Linked DNA regions of Homo sapiens: all the other regions are linked to region 1. Evidence: promoter capture Hi-C in human tissues and cell types (Jung and others, 2019). All regions are on one chromosome and are shown on one strand. Each heading gives the region's core, a stretch centred on a gene start or on the middle of the fragment in contact. The rest is flanking DNA. Distances are from core to core; before and after follow the strand shown.

What was found. Contacts are between HindIII fragments. The study calls those that stand out against the background at their distance.
Region 2: a contact is called between a fragment that was not itself captured here and the fragment with the promoter of TSPYL5 in region 1, in 2 of the 25 tissues and cell types used here (IMR-90 fibroblasts and stomach).
Region 3: a fragment that was not itself captured here is called in contact with the fragment with the promoter of TSPYL5 in region 1 in 1 of the 25 tissues and cell types used here (aorta).
Region 4: a fragment that was not itself captured here is called in contact with the fragment with the promoter of TSPYL5 in region 1 in 1 of the 25 tissues and cell types used here (heart left ventricle).

The regions. Positions count from the first base shown.
Region 1 is chr8:97,276,250-97,279,551 of GRCh38, forward strand. It overlaps TSPYL5 (TSPY like 5), which reads right to left and starts at 1,679. Exons shown (of 1, transcript NM_033512.3): 1 at 1-1,679. The coding sequence starts at 1,595. The coding sequence ends at 342. The region is part of intron 2 of LOC101927066 (a long non-coding RNA gene); the gene reads right to left. RefSeq lists an enhancer at 716-1,217. The HindIII fragment of the contact is 7,330 bases long and covers 1-3,302 here.
Region 2 is chr8:97,454,494-97,457,590 of GRCh38, forward strand. No RefSeq gene overlaps it. Among named protein-coding and RNA genes, the nearest start is that of SNORD3H, 98 kb to the left of the region's middle. The HindIII fragment of the contact is 9,600 bases long and covers 1-3,097 here.
Region 3 is chr8:97,123,063-97,126,577 of GRCh38, forward strand. The region is part of intron 7 of CPQ (carboxypeptidase Q); the gene reads left to right. All of the region lies in intron 2 of LOC101927066 (a long non-coding RNA gene), which reads right to left. Among named protein-coding and RNA genes, the nearest start is that of TSPYL5, 150 kb to the right of the region's middle. The HindIII fragment of the contact is 5,189 bases long and covers 1-3,515 here.
Region 4 is chr8:97,435,392-97,438,877 of GRCh38, forward strand. The region is part of intron 1 of LOC101927066 (a long non-coding RNA gene); the gene reads right to left. Among named protein-coding and RNA genes, the nearest start is that of SNORD3H, 79 kb to the left of the region's middle. The HindIII fragment of the contact is 3,483 bases long and covers 165-3,486 here.

The sequences.
Region 1 (3,302 bases), core at 429-2,928:
GTCCTGGAGGATGACTCATGAGTGTCCATGTTAAAGACAAGTAGGAAAGGCCAGAGCCAAGAACAAGGTCCAGGCAATGTAGATAACAGGGAGCACACATCTAAAGTATGTGTGCTTAACATATGAACAGTCCGGGTGCGATCACATAACATGTGACACTAACGTAGAAAAGCAAGAGGCTATGGGAGGCAAAAGAACATGATCATAAATGCCATATTCTTGTAACTAAAGTCCAAAGGGTCTATAGTACACAGAGGCCAACATGAAGAGAAGGCAGAGAGCCAAATATGTAGTCAACCAGGAGCAGCCCAGCAGGAGGTAGCAGGGAGACTTGTGCAGGATCAGTTGGATTGGCTCACCCCAGGCTGAGTAGTCTCCATTGGCTGCTTTCCTGGACCTTGCCTGCCTTCTTTTTCCTTTCCTTTCTCTACACGAGCCCCTTCACTCAAAAGGTAGAACTGCAAGGGATTGGGCCACAATTCTTCGTTGATTATCTCCACAATCTTGTCAGACTCAATGGAGCTGTGGTTTGAAAACCACCCAAAGAAACTACGGTTGTTTTCTGGGTTTCCCTGGCTTAGGGACTGGAGATCATGCCCTGGGAGCCACTGGATTGGAGTAGAACGAGACACCACCTGGCCAGAAGGACCACACCCATATTCCTTGATGAGCACCTTATTTTGGAAATACGGGTTGCGATCGAAGTAGAACTTGATTTTGTAGCCCAATCTGGCAAGGCCGAGCTCTTCCACTTCCAAGCTGTTTAAGTAGCTCAGTACCTCTTTCTCTTGGCTATTCAGAAAGGATGCTAGCTGGGGATGGTTCTGAAATGCTTGCCCCCAGAAGCCCGGGATATTTTGGATGAGGTGGTTCCTGCGCTCCAAGTGCTGCAGTCGCAACTGCCCAAACTTCCTGGAGAGCCGAAGGTAGGCCCTGTCCGCCTGGGCGTTCATGTTCTCCAGCTTCAGCTGCACGTTCTCCAGCGTATCCATGCTGCCTTCCGTCGCTGGGGGCCCCGACCCTGCATCCCTCTCTTCCTTCTTTTCCTCCCCAGCTGACACCGAGGTATTCTCCCCTGCCGCCCCTTTCTTCTGCCTCCCACCAGCTATGACCTGAGGCCCCCTCCCCGCGGTGCTACAGGTTTCTGGGGCCTTCTTCCCGGCAGGGCCACGCCGGTTTCCAACGCGGGGGGCATTTTTCGGCCTTCCCACGGTTCCCGCTGTTCCCACGAAGACAGTGTCTGCGGCCAGGCGCTCCGAGAGAGATGCGGCCTTCCCCGGGCCGGGCCTGGCCGCGGCCTGCCCGTGGTCCCCCGCAGCTCGGGCCCGCAGCGCGAGGCCACAGTCCAGGGGGAGCCGGCAGGCGGCCTCCTCCCCGAGCCGGAGGAGCTGCGCGGACGCAGCGGCTTCCAGGCCACCCCACCCCGCGCCAGCCTGCACCTGTGCCGCCTGGGTGTCTTCCCCGAGACTCTGGTACTGTGAAGGGTCCGGGTCGCGCGGGGCGTCGTCCGGAGCAGGGCGGACTCGGGCTTTGGCGCGGCCTTTGCCCCGGTTTTTGGCGCGGGAGGACTTTCGACCCCGACTTCGGCCGCTCATGGTGGCGGCGGAGGCAGCTTCAAAGACACGCTGTGACCCTGCGGCTCCTGACGCCAGCTCTCGGTCGGGACCGAGCGGGTCTCTCCACGGCAACCGCCGACGTCACGAACGTACAACTGTACCGTCGCGAGAGGACGTGATGCGCCCGGTGATTGGCGCCGCCGCTGCGGCTGCGCAGGAGACGACCCCCGCGGGCGCTCCCACCCCCATCTCGCGCGGACTCGCTTTAGGTCTCGGCGAGTTTCTCTGATATGCGCTCGCGGGGGTGCTGCCATTTCATCTCTTCCGCGCGGGCTCATCGTGCTCTCAGGGTCTCGTTGAACAAGGCAACGCTAAGAGCCATCACCACCTGTCCCCCATCACCTGTTTTCTAAACTAAACATCTTCAGCTCCTCCAGTTATCTCTTGTGGCATCTGTCATGAAGAAAGTGCTCGGGCGTGTGTGTCTCTCTTTGAACACCTTTGCTGAGGGATTTGCTCTGGTACCTTAACTCCAGAGAACGTAAAGGTGGATGCTATAATGCCGGGCGTCAAAGCGATTTGGTACGCAGTAAGATGATAGTAGAAATTATAAAAATAATGGCAACTAGTATTTTGTATCATTTGTGCCAGGCACTTTACTAGGTGCTTTAAATGCATTATCTCAATTTACAAAGGAGGTGTTGATATCATTCCCATTTTCGAGATAAGAAAACTGCATCTCAGAGACACCCGGGCACATTCCCCAGGTTACACAGTAAGGGATGGAAGCACAATTCAAACTCAAGCCCATGGGACTCCGTATCCTATGCCTTATATTTGGAAATGGCAAGTCCTTCCAGACTTGTTCCACTGTCAATTACTGGGCTGGCTCTTAAGAAATCAGCCTTGCTCCTTAACAAACAGGCTTCCGTGGACCACCTGACCACCTCTTCTGCCTGGGAACATCACCCGAGTCCCCCAGCTGCCTCAGTTTACAGATCTGGACTATCACTCTAGGTATAGGACCAGAAGTGAAGACCTGTATTAGAGCTCCTGTAATTGGAGTAAGACAAGAATGTGGTGAGAGGTGAAATTATTATTCAGGGAGCAGATTGAGGTTCAGAAGCAGAGCCTCCACGTGGCACTGCAGAAGCCCTAGAAACTTCTTACACTGTGCATGGAAACAGCCGGACAACCTCCCCCACAGTCCCGGAGGCAGCCCTGGACCACGCTCTTACTAGTGAGGTAATAGGACCATGAACAGTGAGGGGACCTGTGGCTAATGTAAAAATATAAAGAAAAACCTTTTGAGGTGGTCTTTTCAGGCTCAAAGGGAACAAAAAGGCCCTTGTAACCAGCTAGTGGAGAGATAAGCCCAAAAGCCCCGGGACCTCATTACTCAAAGTGTGGTTGTGGACCAGCAGCCTGATATCACCTGAAAGCTTGTTAAAGATGCAGAATCTCAGGCCTTTCCCCAGACCTACTAAGTCAGAATTTGAATTTTAACAAGATCCTGGGTGATTTGTATACACCCCTAAGTTTAAGGAAACAATTTAAAGAGGAATTATTTTTATACAGATGGCCCTATTTTAAGCCGGCCTAATACAAGTGATTCCTCATTTTCTCAAAAGCTCTAGAATAGCCTGCAAGGCCCTGTATGATCTGGCAAGTCTTCTATCTGCCACTACATGAGTTACCTCTCTGACCTCATCTTCTCTCTCCTCTCTCCCACCTCTAGCTACACTG
Region 2 (3,097 bases), core at 400-2,899, 180 kb after region 1:
GTATATTTTAAAAAAAAAGAAAGTCAAACCTCTACTTGGTCATTGGATAAGTGAGGATAAGCTTAGTTGTCCTTACAGATAGCCACAAAGATTTAGGTGTCTAAAGAACAAGGAGTTTATTCTTTTTCCTGTAACAGTCCAGGTACCCAGGCTGACAATGGCGCTGCCATCTTCAGAAAGTGGCTACCAAGGCCTCTCTGGGAATTGTCATCCAGTTAGCCATGAGAGGAAAGGAGCATAAAGGAACTCACCAGGGAGGTTTTTATGGGCCAGGCCTGACAGCTATACATATTACTTCCATTCACATTCTGCTAGACAGCACTTAGACACCTGGTTAAATCTCAATGTATAGAAGACTAGGAAATGTAATCTCACTGTGACCAGAGAAAGGGCAAATGGATTCTGATGAATGCCTAGTGGTATTTACCACAGCATTTTTCAATTACAGGTCACAACTCAGTGCATCATAAAATCAATCCAGGAAGTAGAAATTAGCACTTTTAAGATGGAGTGGAAAAGAGCAGAGAAGGGAAGAGAACAGAACTGAATGGAATGGGGAGGATGGAAGGGGAGGAACAGAAGGAGAAGAGAGCAAGGGCCTGGGTGGGGAGGGATCAGAGAATATTGCATGTGTAAGGGTAAGTACTGTTTAATGAAATGTGTGTATCAGTTTTGTGTATGTTAATAAGTTATAAGGCAAAATGAATTTCCTCCTGTGGGTCACAGTCAGAAATGTTTGAACGTCCACTTGCTTAATGTATTAGTCCATTTTCACACTGCCGATAAAGACATACCTGAGACTGGGCAATTTACAAAAAAAAAAGAGGTTTATTGGACTTATAGTTCCACGTGGCTGGGGAGACCTCACAATCATGGTGGAAGGTGAAAGGCACATTTCACATGGCAGCAGACAAGAGAAGAGAGCTTGTGAAGGGAAACTCTCCTGTTTAAAACCATCAGATCTTGTAAGATTCACTCACTATCATGAGAAGAGCACAGGAATGACTCACCCCTATAATTTAATCACCTCCCACCAGCTTCCTCCCACGACAGGTGGGGATTGTGGAAGGTGCAATTCAAGATGAGATTTGGGTGGGGACACATCACTTAGTCTCCGTCTCTTCTTAAGTTTGTTATTTAAAAATCTAGGAAAAATAAAAATAAAAAAATCCCAGAAAAATGTGGGGGTTTTTTCTTCCCTCAGCCTACTATTATAATATGTCTCATTGAACAACAAACTAACACTATTCATTATTCACTATAGGGTGGGATTCTGTCTTGGACACCACTGAGTGGGGGAAATACATTCCTTTATTCATCTATTTATCCATAACAAAACAGAACTAGATGTGGAGTTGGAAAACCTGGATTCAGATCCCTGCTGTTAGGCTACTTCATGTATTCATCCCCTTCACAAATACGTATTGAGTACCCACCATGTGTTAGTCACCATGCTGGATGGTGGAGATAAAGCATTCAGCAAATAGTCAAGGTCTCTGACCTCACTTTTCTTTGGAGAGACAAACAATAAACAAGGAAACAAACCAGGTAACTATAGATTATGAAAGGCATATTCTCTTAACCTCTTAGGGCCTCTGTATTAGTCAGGGTTCTCTAGAGGAACAGAACTAATGGAATAGATATAGAGATGATAGAGATAGAGATAGAGATATAAAGGGGAGTTTATTAAGTATTAACTCACATGATCACAAGGTCTCACAATAGGCTGTCTGTAGGCTGAGGAGCAAAGAGAGCCAGTCCGAGTCCCAAAATTGAAGAACTTGAGGTCTGATGTTCAAGGGCAGGAAGCATCCAGCACAGGAGAAAGATGTAGATTGGGAGGCTAGGCTAGTCTCTTTTTTCACATTTTTCTGCCTGCTTATATTCTAGCTGGGCAGGCAGTTGATTAGAAGATGCCCACCCAGATTAAGGGTGGGTCTGCCTTTCCCACCCTTAAATGTATTTCCCCTACTCAGTGGAGTCCAAGACAGAATCCCATCCTATAGCCCACTGACTCAAATGTTAATCTCCTTTGGTAACACCCTCACAGACACACCCAGGATCAATACTTTGTATCCTTCAATCCAATCAAGTTGACTGTCAGTATTAACCATCACAACCTCCATTTTCAAACTTAGAAAATTAGTATTGTATAATCTATACCTCAAAGGTATGTGAGGGTGCTTTGTAAGTGTCTATACCTAGGTAAGGAATTACTTTACTTATTCAACTATGATTTGCTAAATTCTGACCCCATGCCCAGGAGTGTTCCAGGACCACGGAATTTAGTTATTAAGAAATTAAACAACCTTGTTATGAAGCCGCCTCACCTGGTGTTAGGGATTGAATTGTATCTCCCAGAAAAGATATGTTGAAGCCACAATCCCAGGCACCTCAGAATAGGATCTTATTTAGAAATAGAGCCTTTGCAGATGTAGTCAAGATAAGGTCATTAGAGCAGACCTTAGTCCAATATAACAGGAGTCCTTATGATCAGGGGAAACTTTTGGGCTAAGGACATGCATACACAATTCTCAAAAGAAGAAAGACAAATGGCCAAGAAACATCTAAAAAAAGGTTCAACATTACTAATTATCAGGGAAATGCAAATCAAACCCACAATGTGATACCATCTTACTCCTGCAAGAATGGCCGTAATTTAAAAATCACAAAAGAATAGATATTGGTATGGATGTGGTGAAAAGGGAACACTTTTACACTGCTGGTGGGAATGTAAACTAGTACAACCACTATGGAAAACAGTATGAAGACTCCTTAAAGGACTAAAAGTAGAATGACCATTTGATCCAGTGATCCCACTACTGGGTATCTACCCAGAGGAAAAGAAGTCATTATATGAAAAAGATACTTGCACATCCATGTTTATAGCAGCACAATCTGCAATTGCAAAAATATGGAACCAGCCTAAATGTCCATCAATCAATGAGTGGATAAAGAAAATGGATATGTATATATATATATATATATATATATATATATATATATATACACACACACACACACACACACACCATGGAACACTACCCAACCATAAAAAGAAATGAAATAATGGCATTTGCAGCAACCTGGATGGAGT
Region 3 (3,515 bases), core at 597-3,096, 150 kb before region 1:
AAAAAAAATAAAATAAAATAAATAAAATAAAATAAAATAAATAAAATAAAATAAAATAAAATAAATAAAATAAAATAAAATAAAATAAATAAAATAAAATAAAATAAAATAAAATATAAAATAAAATAAAATAAAATAAAATAAAAAATAAAATAAAATAAAATAAAATAAAATAAATAAAATAAAATAAAAATAAAATAAAATAAAATAGTGAGTAAATATAAAAGGCATTTTGGTTTTTAAAATAGCTTGAAAAGTAAATGGACTGTTCAAATAAAAAATAATAAAGATATAATAATGATATAATAGGAAAAAATATATGATAATAGCATAAAAGAAAAGAGAATAAGTGGAAGTATACTATTGTAGAATTCTTAAATATATGAAGTACATATCTAATGAAGACTGTGATAGTTAAAATGCATATTGTAAATGCTAGAGCAACCATTTTTAAAAAATGGTATAGCCAATAAGCCATAGAAAAGATGAGATGGAATTTGAAAAGAAAAACCTCATATGAAATGAAAGGAAGAAAGGAACAGTGAAAGAATAAAGAATAAGGTACAAAAAAATCAAGATGATATAATACAAACTCAATATATCAGTAATTACATTAGGCATAAATAGACTAACCATGCCCCATTAAAAGACAGAAATCGTCAAACTGAATAAAAAAAGCAAGATTCAGTTATATGCTATTTACAAAAAAAATATTTTAAATATAAAAATAGCTAGGTTAGATATAAATGGATAGAAAAAGATATACAGCAAATTCTGTATACGTGAAGGCTGTCATAATTGTACTATCTGAAAAAGTTGGCTTCAAAATAGAGAACATTATTAGAGAGGAGGAGGGACATTTTATAATGGTAAAATAATCTATTCATCAATAAGACACAGTGATCTTAAAAGTAAATTCACTCGCCGAGGTGGGCAGATCACAACAAGGTCAGGAGTTTGAGACCAGCCTGGCCAACATGGTGAAACCCCATCTCTACTAAAGAAAAACAAAAATTAGATGGACTTGGTGGTGGACACCTGTAATCCCAGCTGCTCTGGAGGCTGAGGCAGGAGAATCGTTTGAGCTGGGGAGGTGGAGGTTGCAGTGAGCCGAGATTGCACCATTGCACTCCAGCCTGGGCGACAGAGCAAGACTCCGTCTCAAAAAAAAAAAAAAAAAAAAAAAAAAGTAAATTCATTCAATTACAAGCTTTGAAAACTACATGAAGAAAAAACTGACAGAATTGAAAGAATACACACATCTATAGTTGTGGCTGGAAATTTCAACACTTCTCAGCAGTTGTTAGAACAAGTAGCTGGAAAGTCTGGATATGGAAGATTCAAACAATACTATCAATCAACTTGATCAAATTGATATTACAGAACACTGCATTCAACAACAGCAGGGTGTACATTCTTTTTAAGTGCACATGGGGTATTCACCATGATAGACTATATGCTGGGTTATAAAAGCTTCTCAACAAATTTAAAAGGATTAAAATTATATGAGGTCTGTTTGTTGACCACCATGGAATTGGGTAAGAAGTCAAAAGCATTAAGATATCAAGAAAATTCCCAAATACTTGGAAATTAAATATCACACTTCTAAATAAGCCATAGATCAAAGAAGAAATCACCAGGAAATTAGAATTTATTTGAACCTTATTGATAATAAAAACACAATATATCCCAGTGTATGGGATGAAGCTAAAGCAGTGCTTAGATGGAAATGTGTAGGTTAAATGCTTATGTTAGAAAAGAAGAAAGTTCTAAAATCAGTGATCTAGCTTCCACATTAAGAAGCTAACAACAACAACAAAAATACTAACCTTAAGTACGTAGAAAAAAGTAGAAATCAATGAAATAGAAAATAATAAATAATAGAGAAAATCAATGAATTTTAAAACGGACTTTTTGAAACAAAGCTATAAAACTGATAAACTATCAAGCTGGTCAAGAAAAAAGAGAAGATGCAAACTGGCAATCTCAGGTGTGAAACAGGACACATGACTACACATACGTCATTAAAAGGGCACTAAAGGACTCTAATGAACAAACATATACAAAAAATTCAACAACGCAGATGACATGCATAAATTCCTTAAAAGACAAATTGCTAATACTGATTCAAGAAGAAATAAAAAACCTAAATACTCCTATAAATTAAATGAATTGAATTCATAAGTAAAAGCCTTTACTCAAAGAAAACCCCAGGCCCAGGTAGTTCCCTAATTAATTCTGTGAACCATTTAAAGGATAAATAATAACATGACTATGCAAACTTTAAGAAAACAGAGAAAGAGGTAAATACTTCCCAACTCATTTTATAAGGCGTGTATGACACTGATATCAAAACCAAAGATATGGTAAGAAAACTATAGACCAATATCCTTCATAAATATAGACACAAAAATTCTTAACAAAATATAAGCAAATTAAATTCAGCCATATGTAAACTGGATAATATACTATGTTCAAGTGGCATTTATCTTAGAAATTTAAGGTTGGTTTAATATTTTTAAATCGATCAATATAATTTACCACATTAACATAATAAAGGAAAGAGTATGATCATTTCAGGAGGTGCATAAAAAGCATTGCACAAAATTCAACACCCATTCATAATAATGACTTTTGGAAAATTAGGAATAGTGACAGCTTCCTCGACCTGTTAAAAGGCAGTGATGTCAAATCTTCAGTTTAATTATGAAAGAGTGAATGCTTTCCTACTACGATGGGGAATAAGACAAAGATTCCCGTTCTCACCACTTCTATTTAAACATCATATTGCAAGTACCAACTAGTATAATTAGACAAGATAAAGAAATCAAAGATTACAGATTGCAAAGGAAGTAGTAAAATTATTATTATGAATAAACAACAGAATTGTGTACTGTCAACCTAAATAACTAAAAGAGAGGGGCTCTGTGAAAGAAAGATGTTTATCTGGGAATAGAGCTTTGCAATGGAAATACCTAGGCTGTAGTTAACTATGTGTGTATTCAGGGAGGTAAAGGAAGACAAAGCTTTTTCAAGGAAAAAATGAGGAAGATTACATAATTGTTTTAAAATAATTATCCTTGACTACAAAGATCAATAAGAAGGGTGCGATGGGTACGCTAAAAGCCCAGACCTCACAACTGCACAATATATACACGTCTTCTGCACTTGTACCCACTAACCCTATAATTTAAAAAAATAATAATAAAAAATAGCAAGAGTGACACCTTCTGAGGTTGGACAGGTAGCTGCTGGGCAGATGTACTTACAGAAGTAAGTTTTATGCAAAGTCTTGATGGTCTCTGTGCAAAGTTGTGGTTTTAGCGGTCTTTTTTGTTATCAGGCATGCAAGCATGAGAACCCTCTCTTCGTGACCTTCCCTAGCTGTATTTGTTTGGGTTTTCATAACATTTATGCCTTCATTTTTATTCTGATAACTTTCACAGTACATAGAAAATCCTAAGAAAACTACAAACATATGCTGCTAGAAGCAAGAAGTAAACTTAGCAAGGTCA
Region 4 (3,486 bases), core at 656-3,155, 160 kb after region 1:
CCTCCTTGGAGACCAACCCTGTCAGGCTTTCCTCATAACAGAGGACAAAAGAAATCTCGTCTTTACTAAAGGCAGGTAAAGCTAAGCTCCTTCTCCCAGACTCATCAATCAGGTCAAACACTCCTCGTCTGGAGAAGAGTGACACACGACACAGGAGCAGAGGGAGAGCGGAGTGTTCCTCTAGAAAGGATCCTCCACACAGAAGGAACCATGGAGAGTGGAACCAGATCATAAATATTTTAGGCTTTGCAAGCCAAAATCCCAAAATCAAGGCCATTATTTATGTAGTACTCATAAGAAAGGACATAAACTTCTACAATTTTTAATTGGTATGTTTTTAAAATACGATAATAGTAACAATTTGGTATAATTTTGTACTACAGGTCTACTCATAAGAATAAATTTTCAACTTTTGATACAAATGTATATGGTACACGTGCAATTTTGTTACATGTATAGACTGCTTAGTGGTCAAGTCAGGACTGTTAGGGTACCCATCACTCAATTAATGTAGATTACAATGCTTGCTGACACCTCGTCTACCTTTGCTCCCTTCTAATGTTTCTCTACACTCAACAACACGAATATATTTGAAATACTTACCTGCTTAAAATACTTCAAAGGATTCCCACTATCCTTAGGTCTGAGACTGACATCCTTAAAAGACCCTTTATTGCCTTTCGATAATCATTTTGTTTTGTTTTGTTTTATTTTATTTTATTTTATTTATTTATTTATTTATTTATTTATTTATTTATTTATTTATTTATTTTGAGATGGAGTCTTACTCTGTTACCCAGGCTGGAGTGCAGCGGCACAATCTCAGCTCACTGCAACCTCCACCTCCCAGGTTCAAGTGATTCTCCTGACTCAGCCTCCCAAGTGGCTGGGACTACAGGTACACACCACCATGCCGGGATAATTTTTGTATTTTTGGTAGAGATGGGGTTTTGCCATGCTGGCCAGGCTGGTCTCGAACTCCTTACCTCAAGTGATCTTTTCGCCTCGGTCTCCCAAAGTGCTGGGATTAGAGGCGTGAGCCACCGCGCCCAGCCTTCGATAATCATTTTGTACCATATTACTTAGCGCTCACTCCATTTCACTTACACTAGACTTACTTATTCTTAGTCACCATGTTCTAACCTGCCTCAGGGCACTTGTACATACAGGTTCTTTTGCATGAAACACTATTCCCTCTCCTCTTGCTTATTTAATATTATCAGAGTTTAGATCTAAAGTACACTGTTGGCTGGGTGCAGTGGCCCATGCCTGTAATCTCAGCACTTTGGGAGGCCGAGGCAGGAGGACTGCTTGAGCCCATGAGTTCAAGACTAGCCTTGGCAACATGGCAAGACCCTGTTTCTACAAAAAAAAATAATAATAAAATAAATAAAAATTAGCTGGGCATGGTAGCACACGCCTGTGGTCCCAGCTACTCGGGAGGCTGAGGTGGAGGATCACCTGAGCCCAGGAGATTGAGGCTGCATGAACCATGATCGCACCACTGCACTCCAGCCTCAGTGACAGAGTGAGACCCTGTCTCAAAAAAAAAAAGAAAAGAGAAAGAAAATAAATGGTCAGTTCTTTAGAGAATACTTCCCTTATGTCTCTTTGTCAACCACACACACAACCATATACATTGCTTGCTTTCATAATACGAGTGTCTTATTTACATTATCATACTACAATTGAAATTGTAAGGTGGCTCTAGAAGTCATTTAGAACTGAGCATGATCATTTCTTCTCAAAACTCTCTCCAGGTCTCACTATCCTGTGATTTGAAGTCTAAACACTTTAGGCTGGAATGACATAGTCTGCTAACTTTTCCCCAATATCCACTCTCTCCTTACTTTTTTTTAATACAACCCTTGCCCTCCCCCACACACACCTACGTTTTAACTGGGCACAAGGTTTTTCAGCTACAGTCTACATTTTCTATGTTTCCATATGACTACTTTCTAGCTAATGAGACGTGAGGAAAAATACTGTGGGCAATGTCTAGATCATCTTCTTAAAAGAAAATTGCTTGCCCTCTATGTCTTTTTTTTTTTTTTTTTTTTGAAACAGGAACTGGGTCTTGCTCTGTCGCCCAGGCTGGAGTGCAGTAGCATGATCATAGTTCACTGCAGCCTCAAATTCCTGGACTCAAGAGATCCTCCCACCTCCCAAGGTGAAGGGACTACAGTCTCAGCCTCCCGAGTGGCTGGGACTACAGGCACGAGCCATCACACCCAGCTAATTTTTTATACATAATATTTGTAGAGACAGGGTCTCACTATGTTTCCCAGACTGGTTTCAAACTCCTGACCTCAAGCAATCCTCCCTCCTCGGCCTCCCAAAGTGCTGGGATTACAGGTACGAGCTACCATGCTCGGCCTATGTCCTCTTTCTTCCTTTCCATGCACTAGAAGAGAGATGGGGTAGGAATGAACCAGATTCAACCATGCAGAAGATATCTCAGGGGACAGAAGCACAATAAAATGAAGGCACGTGGGACTCTGGATACCTCTGTGAAGCAGAACAAATCACCTCCCTGGGTCACCTACCAGCTTGGACATTTACAGGACTTAGAACTAAATCTTCTACCTTGATTTCTATTAAAGTGACCAAACCGATGTACTAATACCAGTACTCAAGGATCTGTGAGTTCTGCTCCTAGTCATCCTACTTCCCCTTCCAGTCCTGCAGGAACCCACAGTCATGCTCCTGAACTTGCCACCTGCATCCTTGCTCTGGCCTTTGACAAGTTGGTTCTGGAAACATCCTCCTATCCTCCTCACCTATTTTTCATCTGTCCAAGTTTACACATCCATTGACATCCAACTCACACTCATTTCACTAATTTAACAAACTCTTTAATATTAAGCACCTACTATGTGTCCAACACTGAATGATTTCTGCCTATAATCTAAGGGCAGCTATTTCTAAATGTCAGCTGTTACATGCAACTCACCTGCCTCTCTAGTGTCAGGTGTCCATTTGGACTCCCTGCTGTGGGCTCTACCCACCAGATTATATCCCTGGGCACCAACTCTATCCAAATCATTGCTGAAAGCATTTCCCGTGTAATAAAGAACTTGGCCTCTGTCTCCAGGTCCTGGAAGGCAGTGTCTAAATCCTTAAAATTTCCCAAATGATAAGAGTGTCTTTGTTATTCATGGTGGGTCCCCTGATAGTTGTTTAGGCTAATGAGGTGACTCATGGTGGACCGTGACTCATGGTGGACCCCCTAGATAGTTTATAATAGAGAGATAACTCAGGATCGGGACTAGCCATACCAGAAAGAACAATGACGCGATCAGAGGTTTGGTGCTTTGAGCCACACGGTATCAGCCCAGCCTTTAGGAAGAAAAGGAAGGCTGAAGATTGAGTTCAATCATATAGCCAATGATTCAATCAATCCTGTCTACATAATGAAACCTTAATAAAAACTCAGAACACCAAGATCAGGTGAGTTCCCTGGTGGTGATACTCTGTCACACTACA